3 separate regions of the Homo sapiens genome follow, and all the other regions are linked to region 1. The links are contacts of gene promoters, found by promoter capture Hi-C in human tissues and cell types (Jung and others, 2019). All regions are on one chromosome and are shown on one strand. Each heading gives the region's core, a stretch centred on a gene start or on the middle of the fragment in contact. The rest is flanking DNA. Distances are from core to core; before and after follow the strand shown.

What was found. The method cuts DNA at HindIII sites, captures the fragments that hold promoters and counts their contacts. A contact is called where the count stands out against the background at its distance.
Region 2: a fragment that was not itself captured here is called in contact with the fragment with the promoter of IL1RL2 in region 1 in 1 of the 25 tissues and cell types used here (bladder).
Region 3: a fragment that was not itself captured here is called in contact with the fragment with the promoter of IL1RL2 in region 1 in 1 of the 25 tissues and cell types used here (bladder).

What each region holds. Positions count from the first base shown.
Region 1 is chr2:102,183,925-102,188,692 of GRCh38, forward strand. IL1RL2 (interleukin 1 receptor like 2) reads left to right here and starts at 3,099. Exons shown (of 12, transcript NM_003854.4): 1 at 3,099-3,162; 2 at 3,932-4,001. The coding sequence starts at 3,944. RefSeq lists an enhancer at 2,755-3,284. The HindIII fragment of the contact is 7,879 bases long and covers 337-4,768 here.
Region 2 is chr2:102,248,381-102,253,148 of GRCh38, forward strand. It overlaps the pseudogene CFAP144P2. Among named protein-coding and RNA genes, the nearest start is that of IL1RL1, 61 kb to the right of the region's middle. RefSeq lists an enhancer at 2,283-2,876. The HindIII fragment of the contact is 3,485 bases long and covers 480-3,964 here.
Region 3 is chr2:102,127,957-102,132,724 of GRCh38, forward strand. It overlaps a transcript of IL1R1 not described here. Among named protein-coding and RNA genes, the nearest start is that of IL1R1, 12 kb to the right of the region's middle. The HindIII fragment of the contact is 3,258 bases long and covers 694-3,951 here.

The DNA.
Region 1 (4,768 bases), core at 1,849-4,348:
AAGGGAGGACTTCCCCAACACCCTCTCCATCACTTCATCATAATTGCTTTCAGGGTTCTCACCAGCCTGAAATCATCCTTCAAAATTTTCTTATTTACTTGACACTAGAATGACTGTAAACTCTAAGAGGGTCTGTCTTCTGTACAGCTGTATTTCTGGCACTCAGAATATCACCTGGAACACAGTGGGAACTGTATAAATATTTGATGAGGGACTGAGCGAACTAATGAATGGAGCTCGAGGGAGTGAGTGATTAAGCCCAGGACTGCAGGAAACCAAGTGCTTTAAGGACCTCCTTCCAGTCTCCCTGGCTGCTTCTTCCATTTCTAGAAGTCCATTTCATCCCAACAATAGCAGTCTGCTACAGAAATGCTGCTATATATTCCCAAGCCTCATAGAGGGGAAATATGAGAACTTAAGGGCCTTAAAGGTATAAAGATCTTGGTGGAGCCCCAAACACCCACCCCAGCCTAATACTGGGTTTTGGAAAGTTTAATTGTTGCGTGTGAATATATTTCTGTTTCATTCTCATTGGGAAACATTATCTGTGGGATATGGCCAATGGGAAATAATCAGATATTTAGTTAGAACAAATAAAAGGTAGTATGCATCATGTAAAATATAAATTTGTATATGAAATCTTTAATCCAAATTGTTGCCCTCCTACCCTTCTGAATAGCCGTCATATCCTAGTCTGAGGGTCAAATAGACTGAAGGTAAAATTCAACCAAGCAGAATTCTGTAATGCTTTCATCACACACAGATTTGTTGCTTTTTGCCTGCTCTCAGAATGAAGTGATGAATCTCTAGAGGAAGTTGATTTACTTCATAAAAAAAAAAACCAACTGAAAATTATTTCCTATGGCCACTGACTAATGCTAGAAAACATTAAGAATATTCCCATTGAAAAAATATCTGCAAGTGGGAGAGAATTAGACAAGGAGGGGTTGGTAGGGGGATGGTGATAAGCATCTATTACATATTATACACCCTGTTATGGAGGCTTTACAACTGCCACCTCTGAAAACTGGGCATAACCTCTCAATCTAAATGTATATAAAATAAAATCACAGGATAGCTTTTACATCAGAGCAGCAAAACTGGCAAAATTTAAAAGTCTGACATTACCAAATATTGGTAAGAACATGAAGCAATGAAATTCTTTTCCTCTAAAGGACATAGCTATGGAAAAAAATTAGGGCTTTTCTAATACAATTGAGGATGTACCTACCCAATGATTCTGCAATTCCGTTCACTAAATGGCCTCTGAAATACTCGCACAAAAGGACATTACCAGAATCTTTGCAGCAGCACCGTTTATAAGAGCAAAATATAAATTTGGAAAAACTTAAATGTTCGAAGGAGATGAATACATTTAAGTTTTTTTTTTTCAAGGTAATTGAGAACCTGCAGTAAATATTATGGTTTCCTGTTATTTTTAATTGCTAAGTTTACAATACCCGGAATCAGTTCTGCCTTCAAAGCCAAGTGTTCATTTTCCACGTATCAGGAAACACATTTGGCATAGAGACCATCCCAGGAAGTTAAATTTCAGATTCTCAGAATTAGTAGCAAAGTGCAATGTCAGAAGTGTCCAGTGAGAGGCACTGCAGGGGACTGGGATGGCCTGTCTTAACTTCATACATTTTGGGGCAACAATACCCATTAAACTTGGCATATATACTAGTCCTCAGGCTAAGAAATAAGATAGGACACAAATGCATCTATTCATAAAGTGAAAATGAAAAAAGATAGCATAAAGATTTAGAAATACCTTTCAACACTGCTCATAGAAATAATTCTGAATGCAAATCATATGACTTTTATAAAAATAGTAACACTTTTGTTTTGTTTTGGATGAGGACATAAACGCTGAAGAATATACATATACAGAGGAACCTCGTTTACTGCTGATAGTAGGGGAAATAAATAATAATCTCTATTTATAGCTTAAGAAAGAGGTCCTCAAAGAGTGGGAGCCCTATGGGTCCCTGAGAGACCCTTCAAAAAGATCTGTGAAATCAAAACTATGTTCATCGTAATATTAAGACCTTATATTCCTTTTTTATTCTCATTCTCTCATTAGTGTATGGTGGACCTTTTCAGAAGCTATATGACATATTATATCATGACACTGATTGCAGAAGCAAGTATGAGAATCCAGTCATCTTCTAGTAAGCCAGACATCAAAGAGATCTGCATCTATGTAGAACAATGCCGCTTTTCTCAATAAGCCTGTTTTAGAAAGTAGAGTTATTTTTCATAAATTGTATGATATTTGCGTTAACATGTAATGGGTTTATTGTCACTTAAATAAGAAAGTAAACGTTTAAAAATTCTCCCTTTAACTTCTAATGTAGTAATATTGACAGGCATAACCTACATAGACAAAAGCACTTTGGAATCCTCAATACTTTTTAAGAGTGTAGAAATCTACAAACCACTGACCTTCAGCCTATCACAGGAAGCTTTGCTATTAGCACAATTATTGCATCTCTGCTCCTATGGTTGCTTTTGTCTCACTGTCTCTGATCTTTCAAAGACCGTTGGGAAGAGCTTGACCAGTAATCTATTGAATGGAGATTACATTTTGAACCTTTTCCTACAACTCAGTGCCCTGTGGGATGACTCTGGGGTGTCTCCTGATGGCTAGGGCAACAGGTCCCTGTTGACATCACCTTATCGGGAAGTTTTAGACAGGAACAGTCTTCAGGCTCTGAAGTACTTGAACACCATGGGATTCCTGCCTTACAGAAGTTAATGAGCACGACTCAGGCAGATTCATAATTCTCCTTAGAAGCCATTTGGGATGGCTTCCACTTTGGGGTCATTCCACATAGGCCAATGCAGAGCATGCAGTAACTGCTCAAATAGGATTTGGAAAGGAATGAATAATTCATTTAGACGTTCAACTTGGAATAGACTTAAGCAGACACTCCTGGTGATGAAGGACTTAGATGCCAGAAAATCAGGCTCAAAGACTTTCAAGCCACTTCCTAGTGTGATGTCACATTCCTTCCTACGCTCCACTGGGGAAGGCAGGTCTGCCCCGCCCACGGTGGCGGGGAAATACCTAGGCATGGAAGTGGCATGACAGGGCTCGTGTCCCTGTCATATTTTCCACTCTCCACGAGGTCCTGCGCGCTTCAATCCTGCAGGCAGGTAGACACCGGGCCGGGAGTCTGGCTGAGCCAGGCATGGGTGGGGCCCTGACAGTAGGAGAGGTGTGCAGGAAAAGACGTGGCAACAATGTGTGCCACCGCAGGCCAGGGATCAGGCCCCCCAGGCCGGCCCCCGACCGGCTAGGTGACCATGGGGGAGCCGACTCCGTCTCTGGGTCGAGGAGTGGAGCTCGCGGCTATTTTCAGCTCCAGCGGCTCCCTGCCTTCCTTTCTCCTTTCCCGCTGGCCCTTGCCAGGTAGGCCTGCCCTGGCTGCTCCCCAGTGAGCGGGTGTTTGGGGTTTCTGTTTAGACCGCCAGGCTCGGGTGGATCCCGAGGACACAGGCGCGCAGGGGAGGCTCCGTGCGCCGCGAGCGGGGTTGGGGTCCCACGTCTGGAACCCAGGCCGCAGGCTGCGCTGGGGGGCGCCCTGGCCCTCACGGGGGCTCTGGACACCAGCCTGCTTCGCTGTCAGGTGGCAGAAGCAGCTCCCACGCGGTCCCCACCGCCGCCGCCGCCTACTCCTCGCCCATCCTCCTCTGCGGCGGGGCGAGCTCCCTGCCCTGGATCCTGGTCGGGCGCCCAGACGAAGGAGACAGGGGAAGGGCAGTCTTTGGGGAAACGTGGGGCCAAAGTCGGAGGGCTCCCCAGGAAAAAGGGAAGGTCAGCGGCCTGGGCGGTTGTCTTTGAGATTCCGAGGTCGCCCACGCCGGCGCCTCGGGCCCGCCCTACTGCGTCCTCCCCTCCCACCCTCTTCTCCCTTCCTTGCAGCCCGGTTTGGGGATGTGGTCCTTGCTGCTCTGCGGGTTGTCCATCGCCCTTCCACTGTCTGTCACAGCAGGTACGTTCCGTGTGTCCTCCGTTCCCAGAGGCTGCCCGAGTCCACAGGCTCCTGGCCTGTCATTGGGAGCCCCCGGGGATCGCGTCAGCCCGAGCGCGGCTCCTTCCCCTCCCCAGACCGCCAGGCGGAGTTCCGCGGAAGAGGAAACAGAGAACCAGCTCCACGTGCTCGGATGCTCAGCCCTGAATGTCGCCTTTGAGCTTGGAGGTGACTTCGGGGAGGGGAAGGAGTTAGGCAAATTCCAAGTGAAGACTTGAGTAACAATGCTCAAATGGAATTACTACAGGCTATTTTATAAGATAAAGCGTTATTTTATGACACAAGGTGAAAGCAAGGAAACCGTCAATAGAACAAATTTCTTCTAAGAAATTTGGTATGGCCGGGCGCAGTGGCTCATGCCTGTAATCCCAGTACTTTGGGAGGCCAAGGCGGGCGGATCACGAGGTCAGGAGATCTAGACCATCCTGGCTAACACGGTGAAACCCCGTCTCTACTAAAAATACATTAAAAAAATTAGCCGGGCGCGGTGGCGGGCGCCTGTAGTCCCAGCTACTCAAGAGGCTGAGGCAGGAGAATGGCGTGAACTCGGGAGGCGGAGCTTGCAGTGAGCCGAGATTGAGCCTCTGCACTCCAGCCTGGGCGACAGAGAGAGACTCCGTCTCAAAAAAAAAAAAAAAAGGAAATTTGGTAGAAATGAACTTTAAAAGTGAACCAAATTTTTTTTCTTAAACAATCGTTTTGGGATGAAATACCTTTTACTCAAGACA
Region 2 (4,768 bases), core at 972-3,471, 64 kb after region 1:
GAAAAGCTGTGTTGCTCTAAAACATCTCTGGGGGAGACCAGTCTACTACTACATACATTTCTAGAATTAAAATTTTAAAATAGTTAATGTATGCAATCAGCAAGAGTATTTTATTAATGTCTCCAACAGCTTCATTCACACACTTGCAAGGGTACATTTATTTGATTGCATTTCAATTTGATGGCTGAGATAGAAAGGAGACAAAATGGAAGCTTTGTTATAGGAAAGGAGTACAGAATTGACATTTAGTGTGGGCTGCTGTGGGAAGAAGGCATAAGTGGGCACCACTCTGGGGATGACGTTACAATGTTCTTTGGACAAAAGGACAAGGAAGGACAACTTTGAATGAATGCAGGTGTTTTGTCTAAACATATAAACAAGTCACAGCAAACTACACTCGGCATCATGAAATGGTGCTGCTGACCACTATAGGGATTCATGTTTTGTTGAGCATTTAGTATGTGCCAGGCAGTGGCTGCACAAGCCTTTACAAGAACCTTCTGAGGTATATATTGCACATTCCTATATATCAGGCTTTAGAGAGTTTTGATCGCTTTCCCTAGTACTCCATAGTATTTGAACCCAGGGCTGGCTGACTCCAAAATTCAATAAGCCATAGTGCCCCTAAGTGACAGTTTCCCTCCTACTCTATAGTTTATTCCCGGAGAATGTGTAAGTTTGTAATAGACTACACTTTGGGTATGAGCAGTACATTTTCTCACCCTTCCTTTGATTCCACTAGGAAGCTTCCTGTGTGCATTTGGCTCCTGTGAGTCCATGCCCAGGCTTGGTCAACCCTAACATGGTACAGCTTGCACAGTTTGTAGGCAGCTTTGCAACACAGGATAGATGAACCTAAATCCTCGGAGATTCTTTTCAGCTGGATTAGGTGGGAAAAATTGTCTCTCTCTTGCTCCCTCTCCTACTCTGTCTCTGAAATGTGGGTATAGCTTTGCTGGTAGCAGTCTTTCCTTCCACAAGGATAGATTTTGTTAGCGTCAAGAATGAATCATGTCAAAAGTGAAGAGTCAAGAGATAAGCAGAATCAGAGAAGGAAAGAGAGACCAAGAGAGATCTGTGACATTGTTTGAGTCCCTGGATCCTGTCATGCCTGAATTCCTTGGAACTCTGAAGTTTAGGAGTTAACTATTTCTCATTTCTGCTTAAATTTGGTTTCTGTTTCTCACAATGGAAATAATCCTAACAAATACAAGCCTCAATATGTTAGTCTTTTCCTGCAGACTTCTTTCTGATTGATATCACTGTAGCAATGTGAATTTTTCTATGAAATCATGTAAGTTTCTCTCCTTGGAAAAGAGATTAAAAAGCCATACTAGGTTTGGGGTTCCTATCATAAGTGTGTTTGGGTATAAATTATACAATGGCTCAAAAGTAACATAAAAAATTTATTTTTGGGGGCAGTGCACACTTAAGGCATGAAATCCGGCGCCTCAGTCCACTGCTGGGATGCCACTGGTGGCCATCATCTCCTCCCAGGCTCCACATCTGAGCCTTGTACAGAGCGATGTCATTGCAGACCCTGCAGTGGTTCAGCCTGCAATCTGGGCATTCTGGGTTGAGGGGGGGGCACTGAGTCCCATGCACTTTCCTGGTTTTCGGTCTGTGTCTGGGTCCCTCTTCCTTGGTCCCTGGGCAGCGTGGTGAATGAGATTCCGAAACCTGGCGTCTCCAGGCTCCTCCAGGTTACCATGCCAAGACATGGGCTTCCTGGTGATCTGTGGACCTCGTGGAGGGGTTCACGTGATACCGCGCATAGACGTTCTGGGCTGGTAGCCCTTTGAGGTACAGCTCCTGCAAGATCTGGTTCTGACGGACCTCATCCTGGATCACCTTCTCCCTGGGGTGTCCCGCCATGGCCTTGGCATTGCTCCATCGGGTTCGATGCGCTCTCTGCTCCCTTGTGCCTCTCTCCCTGGCCCCGGGCTTCTGCCTTCTCCAGGCAACGGTGTCCCACACGGTCTCCAGGCTACAGCACTCCCACAGCCCCAGCTCCTGGCGACCCAGCCCTTACCCCAACCGCCCGTGGACACCTCCAGGAAAGGGCTTCCTGTCACGGGACAGACCCGGAGGTCATGGGCATGTGGTTAGGCCTCACCTTGGCCAGTCGTTTCTCTCCCAGCGAGCAGAGGCGCTGCTTCCTCGTGCTCTCCCTTCTCTGTCTCGGGCCTGCAGTTTGCTCCGTGGTTCCAGACCAAGGCCCACGGGGAAGCCATTGCCAAATGCAGAGGCTGGCGCGGCTGGCTGAGCAGGCAGCGGAGGCCGAGGGTGGGTGTCCGTGGTCCTGCGTCCCCGTGTCCACAGCCAGGCCGCGGGGACCCTAGGGTCCGCTCCTTCGCTGCCCGAGCACGGTGCCTGCAGGGGCCCCTCCGTGGGGTCGTGGATCGTCAGGGCCGCGTGGGTGGCTGGGCGGGGGCGGGCTGTAGGCAGCTTCTAAAAGCAGGGGCTGGGCGGGGGCGTGGGGGGATAGGGAGGGACGTAGTGGAAGTTGGGGCCCCAACGGACATGAGGGCGGCAGATGCAGATCTTATGAAGATTCAGGCAGGAAGAGCTCGGCAGGGCGATGCCCAAGACGGGGTAGTGGACGGGGACGAATTGGTTCAGAGACGGGTAGCAGATGGGGCAGAAGGACGAGTAGGTGGGCTGGAACAGGAGCGTAGTCTGCGGGTCCAGAAACGGGGGACGGATGGGAGGAAAGAAGAGCCGACTGCCAGGGAGCTGCGGGGTGGCGCCGAGCGGGCGCCGGGGTTGGGAGGCGGAGAGGCGGGGCAGCTTTCGAGTCATTTTCAGCGAGTGCAAAGCTCCCTCGTCGGAACGGTCGGAGTGCGCGGCGAGCGCGGGGCCTGCGCGGCTTTTATCTCCTCAGGGCGTTCCAGGGCGGAACGTGCTTTGTGACCTGCGCCCCCCGTGAAGCCGGGAGCCCCTCGCGAGTTGGCACAGGGCCCCGTCTCAGGGTTTAGGAGCGAACGGGGAAATGGAAGACAAAGGAAATGGGGGGACATAGCAACCCCTATTCTTGTACCCTGTAGTTTTGCCCTCAGTAGGCAAAGGCTGATCAGAGGGCTAGGATACAGTTAGAGGCCGGGGGCCTGGGGGAGCGGCTCTGAGCAGGATCTGGGAAAAGGGGACGAAGTCAGTGCCCCAGGCACCTTCCCTTAAGACAGCGCAGCGTTCAAAGCCCTTCAGTCCTTCACATCACTGCGGGAACATGCGCAATTAGACATGCTAGGTCCATTTTACCCATGGGACAGGAAGGACCAGAGAGGGAACTTCCATAGGCTGGCGGTGGTGACAAAGCAGGTGGGGCTAGAACTTGGGTCAGGAGAGGGCAGGTAGGAGGGAAGGCAAAATGCCCCAAGCGCGCACCAGCGCCTTGCCTCTCCTGCATGTCTGGACGGGGTCCTGCAGGGGGCGCGTCAGAGCAGACCTGGGCGTTTCCTAGCTTACCCTTGGTCCCCGTATTCCTTGGTTTGAAGCTTTACTCTTTAAAATACTTTTTTTAAATCTTTAAATATTTATTTTATTTCATTTTAGATTCCTGGGTACATGTGCATGTTTGTTACATGGATATATTGCATAATGGTGAGGATTTGGCTTCTAGGGTACCCATCACCAAAATATGAACATTGTACCCAATAGGTATTTTTTATCCCTCACTACCATCCCACCCTCCTCCATTTTGAAGTCCCCAATGTCTGTTACTTCCATCTTTATGTTCATATGTACTCATTGTTTAGCTCTCACTTTTAAGTGAGAACATGCAGTATTGTACTTTCTGTTTCTGAGTTATTTTACTTAGTATGATGGCCTCCAGCTCCATGATGTTGATTCAACGGACATGATTTCATTCTTTTTTATGGCTATATAGTATTCCTTACCATATTTTCTTTATCCAATCAACTGTGGCTGGACATTTAGGTTGGTTCCATGATTTTGCTATTGTGAATAGTGCTGCAATAAACATCTGAGTACAAGTGTCTTTTTTAATGTAATGATTTCATTTCCTTTGGGTAGATTCCCAATAGTAGGATTGCTGGGTCAAATGGTAGTTCTCTTTTTAGTTAATTGAGAAATCTCCACACTGTTTTCCATAGAAGTTGAACTAATTTACATCCCCACCAGCAGTGTATAAGCGTTCCTTTTTCTCTGTGTCCTTGCGTTGTTTTTTTGACTTTTTATTAACAGCCATTCTGACTGGTGCAAGATGATATCATTGTGGTTTTAATTGGCATATCTCTGATGATGAGTGATGTTTCATGTGTTTGTTGGCCGAGAAACAACTTTTAATGTATCTACTTGGCATAACCTAGCCAGACAAATGCTTTCTATAGTTATGAAAGCGGAATTAAATTTGAACCAATAAATGTCATAATCCTCTACTACTCCATCACTTCTCCCCACTCCTAGACACATAAGCTTTAGGAATAAGTGAAAGAGTGAGGGCTGATCCCTAATGAGGCAGTGTGGAGCAGATGGGCTATCAGTGGGTCTCTTCAGGCTATTGGCTGGTGCTAGAGAGGAAGGGCACACCCAGGAAGGGACTGGGGCTGTCACTGGTACACTTGGGTTGTTCTGATGGTGCTTCAAAACACAAGAACAAGCCAAGCAACCACACAAATGGGGGCTAAGCACAGCCATGCTTTGGGTTAAGCGGGCATATTGTCATCAAAGACCTCTCCACCTTTCTCTGTCCTGAAGAAGTTTGCCCAGATTGTGAGCACAGCCCGTCCTGGTTCCATCTGGGGAGTTT
Region 3 (4,768 bases), core at 1,073-3,572, 57 kb before region 1:
TGTTTCCTTTAAGTTCTTTATTATCTTTGAGTGTTTAGATTTCAATTCTCGACAGTTCTTCACATATTGAATGAGTTTGCTCTCCTATCACACAGAGATCAAGTTATCTATGCATTTTACACTTGGTTACTTTAGACTTGAGTATTTGTGTCGAAATACCCTCCTTTTTAAATGTGGTTTTGGTTGATGCTTTTGGAATGAGGAATTTATCAGCTGTGGTGACTCGTATATACTCTGTTAGCCAGAAATACTAGCTTACTCTTTACCCGAAAACTCCCTATTCCAAAATGACATCACACTATGAGTTTATGCCTAATGAAGCTCCAGTAACATTTGCTTATTTGCATAGTAGAAATACTGTCAGGTACACGAATTTTCAGTAATTTTCTCAATACCTCTATGGTATTACTGAATAGGTATATCATGCTCATTTTATACGTTCAAAGAGGCTGAGTATATAAATACCCAAATATAATGAATGTTTGGCAGGTAATGATCATCTCTATCATTGACTATGTTTAAATACTTTTTATGTATTAACTTATTCTCTCAACAACCCAATAAGCTGGGGACTATTGATAACATTATTTTGCCATCAAGGGAATTGAGGCATAAGAGAAGTTAAGTAACTTGCTTAGTGCCACACAGATAGTATATTGTAGAGCTGGGATACATTTGGGGCAGTTGGGCTCCATTGCCTATGCTAGTAACCATCATTCTGCACTTCCTCTAGTTCTAAAGAGCAAATCTCAAACTCCTACATGTTTTAGGGTGATTTTTAACTTTACACACAATGGCAGTGGTCAGTGGTAGAACAGTAAAAGGCAGCAATGTGAAGGGGGAAAACGATCAGTTTTGGAGAGTGTGTTGGATCCCGGTTCAGTTATTTTACTCATTGGGTAATCTTGGGCAAGTTCCTTAACTTCTCTAGGATGTCTGTTGCTGTCTACAAAACAAGAGTAGTAGCCAGTGTGGTGGCTCACTCCTGTAATCCCATAGTTTTGGGAGGCTGATACAGGAAGATCACTTGAGGCTGAGAGTTTGTGCCCAGCTTGGGCCACATAGCAAGACCCTGTCTCTAAAGAATAAAAAAGTAAACAATAAATAAGCTGGGTGTGGTGGTCCAGGCCTGTAGTCCCAGCTACTTGGGAGGCTGAGGTGAGAGGAATACTTGAGCCCAGGAGATTGAGGCTGCAGTGAGCCAAGATGGTGCTACTGCACTCCAGCCTGGGTGACAGAGTGAGACCTTGTCTCAACAACAAACAAACAAAAGAAATCAACAATGAAACCCCAAAAACCTACAACAACAACAACAACAACAACAACAACAACAACAACAAAACCAAAACAAGAACTCCTTCCCAAAGAAAAGTAGTAAACCATTCATGGTTATAAGCATTAAATGTGATGTCCTATTAAAGTGTCTAAATCATGGTCAGGAACCCGATAGGTGCTTGAAATCTAGAAATTTCATTCCTACATAAGGGCCAATTATTGAGCATAGGTCAGATGACCAGTTAAGAAAGCTGCGGTGCAGTAAATTGGAAAGGGAATTGGTGATGTTGGGGAATTCAGGGCAGGATTTGTACCCCCTAAAGGAGCAGTTCAAATCTCAATGATGACTTAGGATGTAGGTCCTTATGGTGAACCTGACAGGGGCTGCTGTGCTGTGAAGTATTGCTTTGAAATCGGGGTCAGGGGTGAAGCAGCTGTTGACGAGGGTGCCCCTCTCTTCTGACCTCTTGGCCTGCCCTTTCTTCTTGCTCCTATGTAGACACTTTCATGAACTACACAGTGGTCTCAGAGGGCTGCAGAAGCTTTATGTAGAGCAGACGTTCTTGAACTTTCGGTCTAAAGACACCTTCGTACTCTTAAAAACTCTCAGAACTTTAAAGAGCTTCTGTCTACCTGGTTAATTCTATTGATATTAAGCACATTAGACATGAAAACTGAGAAATTAAAAAAATAAATTTTTAACAATTATTTAAAAATGCCGATAAACTCATTGCCTGTTAACATAAATCTCTTTTATAAAAACAATTATTTTTAAAAAACGAAAGTATCAAAAAGAATTACCTTTTTTTACTTTGTTTACATTGTTCTGGAAATCTCTTTAATGCATTGCTCAACAGAATACAGATAAGTTCTCATATCTGCTTCTGCATTCAATGTTGGAGAAGTTCTGCATCATGCGGTCTCTGGAAAAGTCCACTGTACGTGTGTATGAAAAAGACACATACCATGTTTGAATTATTATGAAAGTAGTTTTGACCTTGAAGACTCTGAAAGGATCTCAGGAACCTTTGAGAACTGATAATATAACGTATCTTTTTCTTGGTAATAATGTTTTTGAACATTCTCAGTATTCCCTCTCAGCTTCCTCCTGGTGCCTGTGTTCAAGCAATCACAATTGCTAATGATTCTTCTTGCAAAATTCTTAGGTTTGGCAACCCTGGAAATAGTAGATTTGATCTTTAGCTGTCTCCCTCACTCTTATCTTTCCTCTTTCCTTGACAGCTGTTCTTTCCTTTTCACTCTTGGTGGCACAAGCTTGGGAGGTTTTCCATCCAGGCTGGTGCCTCTTAACTTCTCTCTCTGCCTCTAGGGCCTGACAGCTGCCAGGCTGTCCTTTATCTGACATTGTTCACAGTTTACTTCCTTCCCCCAAAGTCTTGGTTTTGACTAAAATGTATTAATTCTTGGTTATGTTTTATAAAGATATCAAAAACTTTTTCAACCAAAGTTTAAAAAAGAATTTGCAGGGTGGGGGTGGGCATGTGTAAAGAATCTCAGGCATCTTCACTGATGAACTTCAGAAACTGTGTCAGTAGATTTCTGATGCCAGCCAGGATTGAGTAATAGGCCCTAGATTTACTTTCTCATAAGAAACAACTAAATTACTCTACAAAATATGCAAAACCAGGGTTTTTAAGAATTGGACATCAGCTAAGGAAGGATAGTGATCCCTGAGAGGCAGAAAACAAAGCCCTGTGACTTCTCCTGCTTACTGATGTGAGAGTTTCCAGGCCATGGCACAGGGAAGCGTGACCCAGGCAGAGTCAGTGAGAAGACTACCCAAAGTCAGAAAAAGCGCCTCCCTAAAAGATTAGATGAAATAGTGGACAGGAGGAGGAATAATTCCTATTCTCACCAGCCAGACTGGAAAGTCTCGTAATTCATAGGGATTTGTTAGAGGACTCAGAAGCATCAAGCTTCAGAAGTGGGATAAAATGAGTCCTAGAGTGAATGGTGCTGTGGTCCTGTCTGCCGAGTCTTAAAAGCAAGATCCAAAAGAATCAAACTATTCTCAATAACTCAAATGCATCCTAAGACACAAAAATATTCAGCATCTAACAAGTTAAAATCCACAATGTTTGGCATTCAACCAAAAAATTACCAGGTATGCAAATAAGGATGATAATAATGCAGAGGAAAATGAGTCAAAACCAACCAAGAACTAATAGAGATGTTAGAATTAGCAGACAAGGACATGGAAACAGTTTTTATAACTGTATTCCATAAACACAGAGGTAAGTAGAGAAACAAAAGACGTGAAAATGCCTGCGTCTAACTTCTAGAGATAACAACTACAATTTCTGAGGTAAAAAAAATGACTGGATGAGATTAATAGCAGATTAGATATTGCAGAAGAATAGATCAGTGAATCGAAAGACATAACAATAGAAACTATAAAAAAAAACCACAGAGGAGGAAAAACAAACAAGTAAAGAACAGAGCATCACGAAACGGTGGGAAAATTTCAAGTCACCAAATACACATGTAATTGGAGTCACTCAAGGGAAAAAGGGAGTGACAGGAAAAATATTTGAAGAAATAATGGCCAGGAGTTCTCCAAGCTGAACTGAAAATTACAAACCCACATACCCAAGAAGTTCAGTGAACCTTAAGAAACTTGAGGACAAACACATCATTTCATCATAATTAAATTTCTTAAAATCAGCGATAAAGAAAAAATCTTAGAAGCCTGAGGGAAAAAATACGCCTACCAAGAAACAGCAGTGACACAGATGGTAGCAGATTCCTCATAGAAACAATGCAAGCTAGAAGAGTTTGGAGCATGATCTCTAACATACTAAAGGAAAAAATTGTCAACCAAGAATTTTATACACAGTGAAAATATCTTTCAAAAACAAAGACACAATAAAGCCATTTCAGATATATAAAAGCTGAATTAATCACTAACAGACCTGCACTACAAAAATGTTAGAGGAAATCCTTCAGACAGAAGGAAAAGGATACTAGATGGAGATCTGGATCTATCCAAAGGATAGAGCACCAGAAATGCCAAATTATTATTTAAATGACTTTAAATGAAAATTATTTAAACAGAAGTAATAATGATGTAGTGTGAGGTTTATAGGATATGTAAAAGTAAAATGAATGACAAAATAGCACAAAAGTCACGCAAGGGAAAATGAAACTATACTATTTTAGGGTTCCTGTATGTAGGGTGATACAGTATCATTTATAGGAACAGTTTTAGCACTAAATACCTGTTTTAAAAAGAAGAAAATTGTCAAATTGGTGACCATAGCCTCCACCTTAAGTAACTAGAAAAAGGAATAAATTACACACCAAACAAGCAAAAGATAAGACATAATAAAGATCAAAGCAGAAAGCAACTAAATAGAAAACAGAAATACAATCAAGGACATCAATGACACCAAAGCTTTGATGTCATTTGATGACACCTTTGAGAAGATCAATAAAATTGATAAACCTTTAGCTGGATTGACTGTGGATTAAA